Linked DNA regions of Homo sapiens: regions 2 and 3 are each linked to region 1. The links are contacts of gene promoters, found by promoter capture Hi-C in human tissues and cell types (Jung and others, 2019). All regions are on one chromosome and are shown on one strand. Each heading gives the region's core, a stretch centred on a gene start or on the middle of the fragment in contact. The rest is flanking DNA. Distances are from core to core; before and after follow the strand shown. Region 1 holds the start of ZFP37 (ZFP37 zinc finger protein). Region 2 overlaps SNX30 (sorting nexin family member 30). Region 3 has its middle 34 kb from the start of SLC46A2.

Region 1 (2,932 bases), core at 129-2,628:
TACTTACTTCAGCACTTATTAGTGTCTGGAATAATTTTATTTGTTTATATTTTATGATATCTTTCATATTTCTATAATGTAAGTCATTGAGGGAGGGATTCTGGTTTTGTTTCCTGGTGTGTCTCCAGCATTTAAAACATTCCCTGGTTTTGAGGACAAAGCAGGGACTGCAAAACAACAACACCAAACAAATAAAATAAAAAATACCCCCTGGCATAAAATAAATGCTCATCTTACAGACTGTTCCTACTGTTCCTGCAAGTTTTCAATCACTGACACCCAAATACTCCCCAATCACTAACCTTCACAAACTTCTCCCAATTATGGATCTCTGCAAGTTCCCAACTATCACTCTCCACAGAACAATCATTAACCTCCACAGATCTCCAATCACTGACCACCAAAGAACCCTCAATCATTAAATGCAGCAATCCCCTCAAACTCCTGACCCCCTTAGACTTCTAGTCACAGAATCATAGAGGATCTTCAATCATTAATTCCTACTAATCACCTCATTACTCAAAGCACAGTTATTACTGCTAGACACCACCTAATTATTGACCTGCATACATCCCCAATTACCTTTTCTCCCCAGATGACATACAAATCATCTACCATCCCCAGAGACACCTCAACATTGACTCCCCAAACTCCAACAGTCATATTCCCCCCTCACTGGCCCCCCGATTCCTCCATTACCCACTGACCCTCAAAGATACTGCTAATCAAACTTCCACAGACATCACCGTCACTGACTCCCAAGCCCCAATCTCTGATGCTCCCAGATGCTCCCAATCACTGAATTTCCCAAATCCTAACACTGACCCTCTTTGATAACCCAGGCTCTAACCACCACAGGCACCCATAATCGCTGGCTCCCATAGACATCCCAAACCGCCAACCCCCACGGTCCTTCCCTATCTCTGACACATCACAAAGCCTCCATTTCTGATCTCCTTCCAAACTCCGACACTCGGTGACTGCCACAGACGCCTCCCCATCATTGTCTCTGCAGATCCCTCCTAATACTGATATCCTAAAGCCAAATCATTAACCCCACAGATAACTCAGAACACCGACCTCCCAAAAGACCATCTAGCATCGATTCCACCAATTCCCAAATCACCTATCGTCACAGACTACTCCAATCACTGCCCCGCAAGTACACCATCTCTGACCGCCAAAACACCCTGTCTCATCACAGCTCTCACCGCGGCGCTGGCCTCGGGCTCGGACACAGCCATCTCCAGTGGTCGCCCGGCCTCTTTGGTCGTTTCCGCACTTCTCCTCCGGTCCACGGTCTCTGGCTTTGTCAGAATCTGGACGCCGCTGGAGACCGACATGGCGGCTACCCGGAGGGCGGCCTTAGCGGGTCCGGCAGCCGCGATGGCGGCGCCCTTCGGTAATAGCGCACGGGCGCGGCCATCTTGGCAAACACTCAGCCGTACAGCGGAAGTGCGGGGACTTCTGGGACAATTAGATCGGGAGGTGGAAGCTGGCGAGGGCGTTACTTGCAGGATGCAGGAGTGATGCGATCAGAGCCAGCCGGAACCGAGTTCCGTTACGCACTACAGGACTGACCTGGGCCTGACAACCCACTGCCGGAGTTCGGATCGCATCACTGCCGGAAGATATTTTACAGAATTTGGAATTGCTTTTCCGAATACATGTCAGTGCGGCCAGCGGCTAGAAGTCCGGGAATCACAACGCTTAGTGCGGACTTTAGAAAGGCAGGATGCGAGAAATTGGAAGCATAACGGAGAAAAGCCTGATCGAACAAATAACATTATTTTATAGGGAGAGGACGTTAATCTTTGAGATATACGATAAATCTTTTCATATATAGTATAAGAACAATAAGAAAAACTGAAACAGAAACTTAAGTAAACACACCACTCCTCCGTGAGAGCCCGGGTTTGGTGAAGATATTTCACCAGAATAATCAAGCACTTGGAGAAATAATTCCTTAATGCGCCATTTCATGCATTAATTGCATTCATTGAATATGTGCAGGTTAGGTGCTGCGCTATGCAAGGTACTGGAAAAAGAGTGGAGAGGGGTAGGGATGATGTAAGTCCAGAGTCCAAAGGCCAGAAAACCAGGGTCTCCAATGTCAAAAGGCAGAAGATGAATGTCCCAGCTCAAGAAAAAAGAAAAGGTGGGAGGGAAGTGGGGATACTTAACGGGTTTTTAAAAAAAAAGAAAAGAAAGAAGGAATAAGACCTAGTATTTGATAGCACTACAGGTGTATATATCCAATAATAATTTAGTTGTACATTTCGAAATAACAAAGTATAAATGGATTGTAACACAGAAGATAAATGCTTGAGGGGATAGATACCCCATTTTCCATGATGTGATTATTGCACTGTGCATGCCTGTATCAAACTACTTCATGTACCCCATAAATATACTCACCTACTATGTACCCACAAAAGTTAAAGATTAAAAAAAAATAGAAAAGAGGATTCACCCTTCCTTTTCCTTTTTGTCCTTTCAGGCCCTCAGTGGATTAGGTGGTGGCCACCCACATTGGTGGGGGCTTTTTTATTCAGTTTGCTAATTCAAATGCTAATCTTTTCCCAGAAACACACTAACAAACCCAGAAACAATGTTTCACCAGTTTTCTGGGCATCCTTTAGCCCAGTCAAGTTGACCGATAAAATTAACCATCACCCTAACCATGATATACACAGACTTCCAGGTTACAGAATCTGTGAGATAATAGGTTTGTGATACTTTAATCCACTAAAGCTGGTGATAATTTGTTATCCAGCAATACTAAACTAAGGACTCAGTGAAGACTGAAAAATAATTGATGGCTTGAAATTACTCTTCACCTACTTAAGACACGGCCCCCTACACTGTGTTCCTGACAGAGTATTCTTTGAGCGTCACCTTTGTACGGATAGGCAATTGCTTTGTTTCTGCC
Region 2 (2,932 bases), core at 256-2,755, 220 kb before region 1:
GCTGTGTCAGCCTTGTGTTTGCTTTTCCCATGGCCAGCACTGCTGATTCGCCAGGTGTTTCCTCTTTTATGCTCTCTTAACTTTAGCTTTAAAAGTGGAGACATAGACTCAACTGCCCTTCATCCATAGGGAACAATAATTTAGTAAACAAACTTAGATACCTTTTCTGGCAGAAAGATGGTTCAGAAAGATAGCATGGAGACCTGTGTTTGCCAAAGTTATGACCCTGATGAATCTTCAGACTTGTAATTGACTCACCCACCCCACCGTGGTTCATTTTAAACCCACTCCTGCATGGGGGAGTTGCCAGGGCCTGTATTGATCCTTCCTCGTTTTTGCCTCCACTTCCTTCCCACCCCTCTCGGGGCCACCTGCTTTGCCACATCCCATAATGTTGGGATCTTTTATCTCCTTACATATGCATGGGGCGGACAGACGTGAGCAGTGTAAATGATCGCACTGGCATGGGAAGCACGTTGAGGATTCCCCAGCAGTTGCCATTCATCGGTCACTAAGCCATGATGACTGTGTTCTGTTGCAACAATGGCAAGACTCTTGGTGACAAATGATGGGCCAGATTTTCTTTACGGGGGAAAAAAATCAACATTTTTTTTTTCTCATTTCTTGTACTTGTTCCCTCTACTTGACCCACTGATGATACCATGTGGGGCCCATAGGTTTTGGAGATAGCTGTGGATACCATCCACACCTAAGGATCTTGCAGAGTAAATTCTGATGGGATCCAAGGGGCTGAGGTGGCCACCGAGTGATAGAGTGAGTCTGCCAGTGTAAGACCACATCTCTTGTATCAAAATGTTTCCTAAAATTCCATTGTTTATCCATTGTGACTGTTTTTGTTTTTCGTTTTTTGGTTTTTGGTTTTTTTTTTGAGACAGAGTCTTGCTCTGTCGCCCAGGCTGGAGTGCAGTGGCACCATCTCGGCTCACTGCAAGCGCCGCCTCCCGGGTTCACGCCATTCTCCTGCCTCAGCCTCCTGAGTAGCTGGGACTACAGGTGCCCGCCACCACGCCTGGCTAATTTTTTGTATTTTTAGTAGAGATTGGGTTTCACCATGTTAGTCAGGATGGTCTCGATCTCCTGACCCCATGATCCACCCACCTCGGCCTCCCAAAGTGCTGGGATTACAGGTGTGAGCCACCGTGCCTGGCCCCTGATTTTATTTTTTAACCTTTAAAAACATCTCCCTAAACCTATATGAAACTCTGCCTCCATTGCCTGTTAAAATACTGCTTCACACTATGGGTAGGCGAGTGGTTCTTTTCTTTTTTTTTTTTTTTTTTTTTTTGACGGAGTCTCGCTTTGTTGCCCAGGCTAGAGTGCAGTGGAGTGATCTTGGCTCACTGCAACCTCTGCCTCCTGGGTTCAAGCAATTCTCCTGCCTCAGCCTCCTGAGTAGTTGGGACTATAGGCGCCTGCCACCACACCCGGCTAATTTTTTTGTATTTTTAGTAGAAACGGGGTTTCACTGTGTTAGCAGGATGGTCTCGATCTCCTGACCTTGTGATCCACCCACCTTGGCCTCCTAAAGTGCTGGGATTACAGGTATGAGCCACCACCAGGCCAGCGAGTGGTTATTTTCGAAGATGTTTGGTGGATGTGGCTGCTACTGCTTTTCCCCATAAGGCCCATTATCCAGAGGGATGGCATTCCCATCACGGGATGGAATGGATTGATGTAACATGAGCTGTCAGAGGTTTTTAAGCAGTTGTGCTAGAAACAGTGTTGTGTTTAAAGAAGAGTGGGATCAGGTGAGTGAATGGCCAAAGAAACACATGTTCATGTAGAGAGCTCTTGGCTGTGGTGATTACTGAGTCAGTAATAGCAGCAACTGCTACCCAGCCAGATTTTAATTAGTTTCTGTTCCCTGTTCAGAGTACCTTGTGGAGCTGAGAGAATACGGGCCTGTGTACTCCACATGGAGCGCCTTGGAGGGTGAGCTGGCTGAACCCCTGGAGGGTGTGTCAGCTTGCATTGGGAACTGCTCTACAGCCTTAGAAGAGCTGACAGATGACATGACAGAAGACTTCCTACCTGTGCTCAGGGAATATATTTTATACTCTGACTCCATGAAGGTAAGCTGGCTTGCTTCTTGTGTATTTGCATACTTTCTTTGTAATAGCAGTTATCAGAAAGTAATGGATTATTGCCTGTTTGCATGTGATATAAGTTTCCTTCTTCCTGGGTGGGCAGGATCAGACACGTGGACTGACATCATGGACATATAAATGGAACACATGGTGAACGAAGTACGTGAATTAAACAAAAAAAAAAGTTTGGTAAGAAATTCTTACTGGTTTCTCTGAGAGTTCAAGAAGATATAATGCCTATGAAATAAGAACAAAGATGCCATGGAAAAGTAATAATTAGAGCTCTTGGAAGTTAAAACATGATTGCTGAAATAAAACTGAATAATCAAGTTGGAAGGTGAAATTGAAGAAATCTTAAAGTAAGACAAAACAAAAGTTGCTGGAAAATAGAACAAAAATGCAAAAGTACTGAAAATATGAAAGAAAAGAGACATAGGGAATTAATCCCAAAGGTTCAGCATCCGACTGATAAGAGTTCCTGAGAGAACAGGGAAGACTGAGGGAAGGAAATTGTAAAAGAAATAATACAAGAAAGTCCCCCAAAGCTGAAGACATAAATCGTCTGATTAAAAGGACATGATAATTGCCCAGCAAAAGGATTGAAAAGATCACCAGCCCAAAGCATATTATTGTGGAATTTTAGAACAAAAGTGATACGAATTTGAAAGCTTTTTAAAGCAGAGGGAGGGGCAGATGATGTATAAAAGGAACAAGAGTGAGAATGGCTTTGGTCTAGCAGCGGTGAATGAGAAGAGGAACTATGAGGACAAAAAAAATCTTTGGCCTCAAATTCTGTATGCAGAATCGGAGTAGAGTGCAGGAGG
Region 3 (2,932 bases), core at 298-2,797, 130 kb before region 1:
CTCTGGTAAGCTTTAATCTACTTTCCATCTCTCTGAATTTGTCTATTCTAGATATTTTATATAAACTGTCCTATTGCTAGTTTTGATCAAATGGAAATATACTGTTTTGAAAGAAGAAAGCGTAGTTACAGAAGAAAATAAGCTTAAAAACTAGGAAAATGAATTTTGGTAAGTAAGATCCCCTTTAGAAAAAACAGGGAAGAAACTGAAAAACTGTAGACTATTTCACATTTTTTGTTACCAAAAAATGAGGTGAGTCAAGCCCCTAGTTGGAATCTGGCCAAGTTGAGTTGAGGGCTGGGTGAAGGTTGAGCTGTTAGCGCACCAGCATCAGCTGCTCTGGAAATGTGGACACAAATCACAAGAATCATGATTTAATGTTTCTGTTTTAATCAGGAGAAAACACATACAAAGGAAGCAAATAATCACTAGAGGCCTAGCAAGTGGTTGACCACCCTGTCTTGGAAAGAAGGGCTGGGATGAGGTTTGGGGGTCTGGAGCTGAAGGACAGACTTTGAGTCTTATGTCAAATGATTGTTCTATAGTTTGTAACTTGCAAACTTCTGGGTTACATGCAAACCTCTTGTATTGTCCATTAACTTGGGTCATGGTTAAGATAGATTATCAATAAATATGTATGGGTTCAAAAAAATTAAGTTGTCCTATTGTATCTAGCTTATTTCATTTAACATAATGTTTTCAAGGTCTGTCCATGTTGAGTATGGTCAGAACTTTACTCCTTTTTAGGGCTGAATCCATTTCATTGTGTGCTTGTACCTCATTTTATTTATCCATTCATCTGTTCATGGACACTTGGGTTGTTTCCACATTTTGGCTGCTGTGAACAATGCTGTAATGAACATGAGTGGACCAATATTTGTATGATTTCCTGTTTTAACTCTTTGGGGTGTATACCCTGGAGTAGAATTTCTGGGTTGTGCAGAAATTCTATGTTGGGGCTTTTGGGGGAATTGCCAAATTGTTTTTCACCTCGACTTCACCATTGTACATTCACAGCAGCAATGTGCAAGAGTTTCACTTTCTCTGTATCCTCACCAACACTTGTTATTTTCTATTTTTTCCCTTCTGAGGTTTGCTGACTTAGAAGGTGTGAATTCATATTATTTTTTAGGTTAAATAAAAATCATGTTTCAGAATAAGATATAGTGGTGTATCCTACCAGAGATGATGTATTACTAGAGATTAAGTTTGTAGGTCCTCTTCCCCCACCAATCTTCTGTTACAATGAACCAATCATTCCACTCCTTGTATTTATTAGAGGTAGCTTCTGAAGAAGCTCCCTAAGAAAGAGTAGGTCCCTTAGAAAAATTACTTAGGGTATCCTTCCTTAGAAGGTAAGACAGGGGTTCCCCTGGAGTCCCTGAGTGTAGCCTCCTTTTGGGGAGGGGGACAAGTGAGTAGCCCCATTGTCTGGGGAAAGGGAAAACAGTCTGGCTCTGTTTTGAGGGCTTAAAGGAAAAAGTGGAGTGGGTTTCCGGGAAGGAATGGAGACAATTGTTTTGTTTGTGAGGTGATGGCCACTGGAACCAGATCTGATTCCCTGCTCTTCTGGGGCCCATGGAAACCTGGAGATTGCCTGCGATCAGGGGAAGGAAGGGAGGGTGACCATTCAGAACTATACCCTTAGGAGCACTGTGTTACTGTTGCAATCAGCTCTTCTCAATCTTTTCCAAATTATGGGACGACTGTAATAATCTTATAGATGGAGATATTAAATCAAAGAGAAGTTGACCATTTTTAAACCTTGGAGAGGCTGCTTCTGGCTGAAGTTACTGGGAGAAGCAATGAAAGAAAAGACAACTTACACTTCTTCACTTCATCTACCAAAATATGCAGTTCTATTTTCGTTTATAGAAACTTCAGGTGATAGATCAGTGATCAACAGTGCCCTGGGAACAGTGCTCCCACGTTTTTCTACACCCCTGACTTTTGCTTCTATGATACTGACTTTTTAAAGAGACAATTATCTTTTTAAACACCCCACCTTCTGGATTTGTTTGATAATTTTCTCACAGTGTTTTTTAACCTGTTTCTGTATCCCTTGAATTTCCTCTAAATTGGAGACTAGGGCTAAAGGCTTAAGTTCAAGTTTACATTTTTAGCAAGAATGTGTCGTAGGCGATGCGGTGGGAGTCATTTTGTATCACATAAGGAGACACAATGTCAGATTGCCCCACTATTGATGATGCTTAATCATTTGATTTGGATGGTGACCGCCAGATGTCACCATTGTAAAGCATGTTTTCCCTTCTGCCATATCGAGTGACCTGTGTAATCTCTTGAAAAATATTCGTGTCGACAAATCCTGTTTAGAATTTTCAAGTACCCGCTGCCCTCCACAACACTTTAATGAATTTGAGACTGTCTTTGTCATCTTGATACACAGTGCTCTGTAATTTATCCTTAAGTGGCTCAAACATGTCAAAATAAAAACTCACAGGATTATGCTAGACACCTAACTTCACAGTGCTCACACCACAGGGAAGGACCACCTTAGTCACTGTGAGAATTCACCATAATGGGCTGGTTGTTATTTTCCCCAGGAAGGGAGGGAAAATGGCTGCCATTGTAAACTGAGGAGCATAGAAATAAGACCAGCTTTGAGGAGGAACGGTGTTTTCTTCTTCTTTTTAAAGATATTTACATGTCAGCGGGTTTTACTTCTTGGAGGTAAATCACTTTCTAAATTTCTCCTTGGACTGTTCATTATAAAGTTGCTGTTTAATCTTCCTGGAACATAACCTTCAATTTTAAAGAATGCAAAGCTTTGTATTATTTGTTTAGTGAATCTATAGCGGTGCTTCCCAGCTTCCCAGTATTTTTCAGATTATTAGCATACATAGAAAGTGATAATATTGACATGATGCACTGTGGTGTGCTAGAGGAGCTTTAGGGGCATCATGTGGGACTT

Evidence for each region. The method cuts DNA at HindIII sites, captures the fragments that hold promoters and counts their contacts. A contact is called where the count stands out against the background at its distance.
Region 2: a fragment that was not itself captured here is called in contact with the fragment with the promoter of ZFP37 in region 1 in 1 of the 25 tissues and cell types used here (IMR-90 fibroblasts).
Region 3: a contact is called between a fragment that was not itself captured here and the fragment with the promoter of ZFP37 in region 1, in 6 of the 25 tissues and cell types used here (IMR-90 fibroblasts, lymphoblastoid cells, mesenchymal stem cells and 3 more).

The regions. Positions count from the first base shown.
Region 1 is chr9:113,055,346-113,058,277 of GRCh38, forward strand. It overlaps ZFP37 (ZFP37 zinc finger protein), which reads right to left and starts at 1,379. Exons shown (of 4, transcript NM_003408.3): 1 at 1,212-1,379. The coding sequence starts at 1,343. RefSeq lists an enhancer at 1,010-1,579. The HindIII fragment of the contact is 44,168 bases long and covers 1-2,932 here.
Region 2 is chr9:112,836,605-112,839,536 of GRCh38, forward strand. It overlaps SNX30 (sorting nexin family member 30), which reads left to right. Exons shown (of 9, transcript NM_001012994.2): 6 at 1,894-2,093. Among named protein-coding and RNA genes, the nearest start is that of SLC46A2, 53 kb to the right of the region's middle. The HindIII fragment of the contact is 6,299 bases long and covers 1-2,932 here.
Region 3 is chr9:112,923,015-112,925,946 of GRCh38, forward strand. No RefSeq gene overlaps it. Among named protein-coding and RNA genes, the nearest start is that of SLC46A2, 34 kb to the left of the region's middle. The HindIII fragment of the contact is 4,076 bases long and covers 1-2,932 here.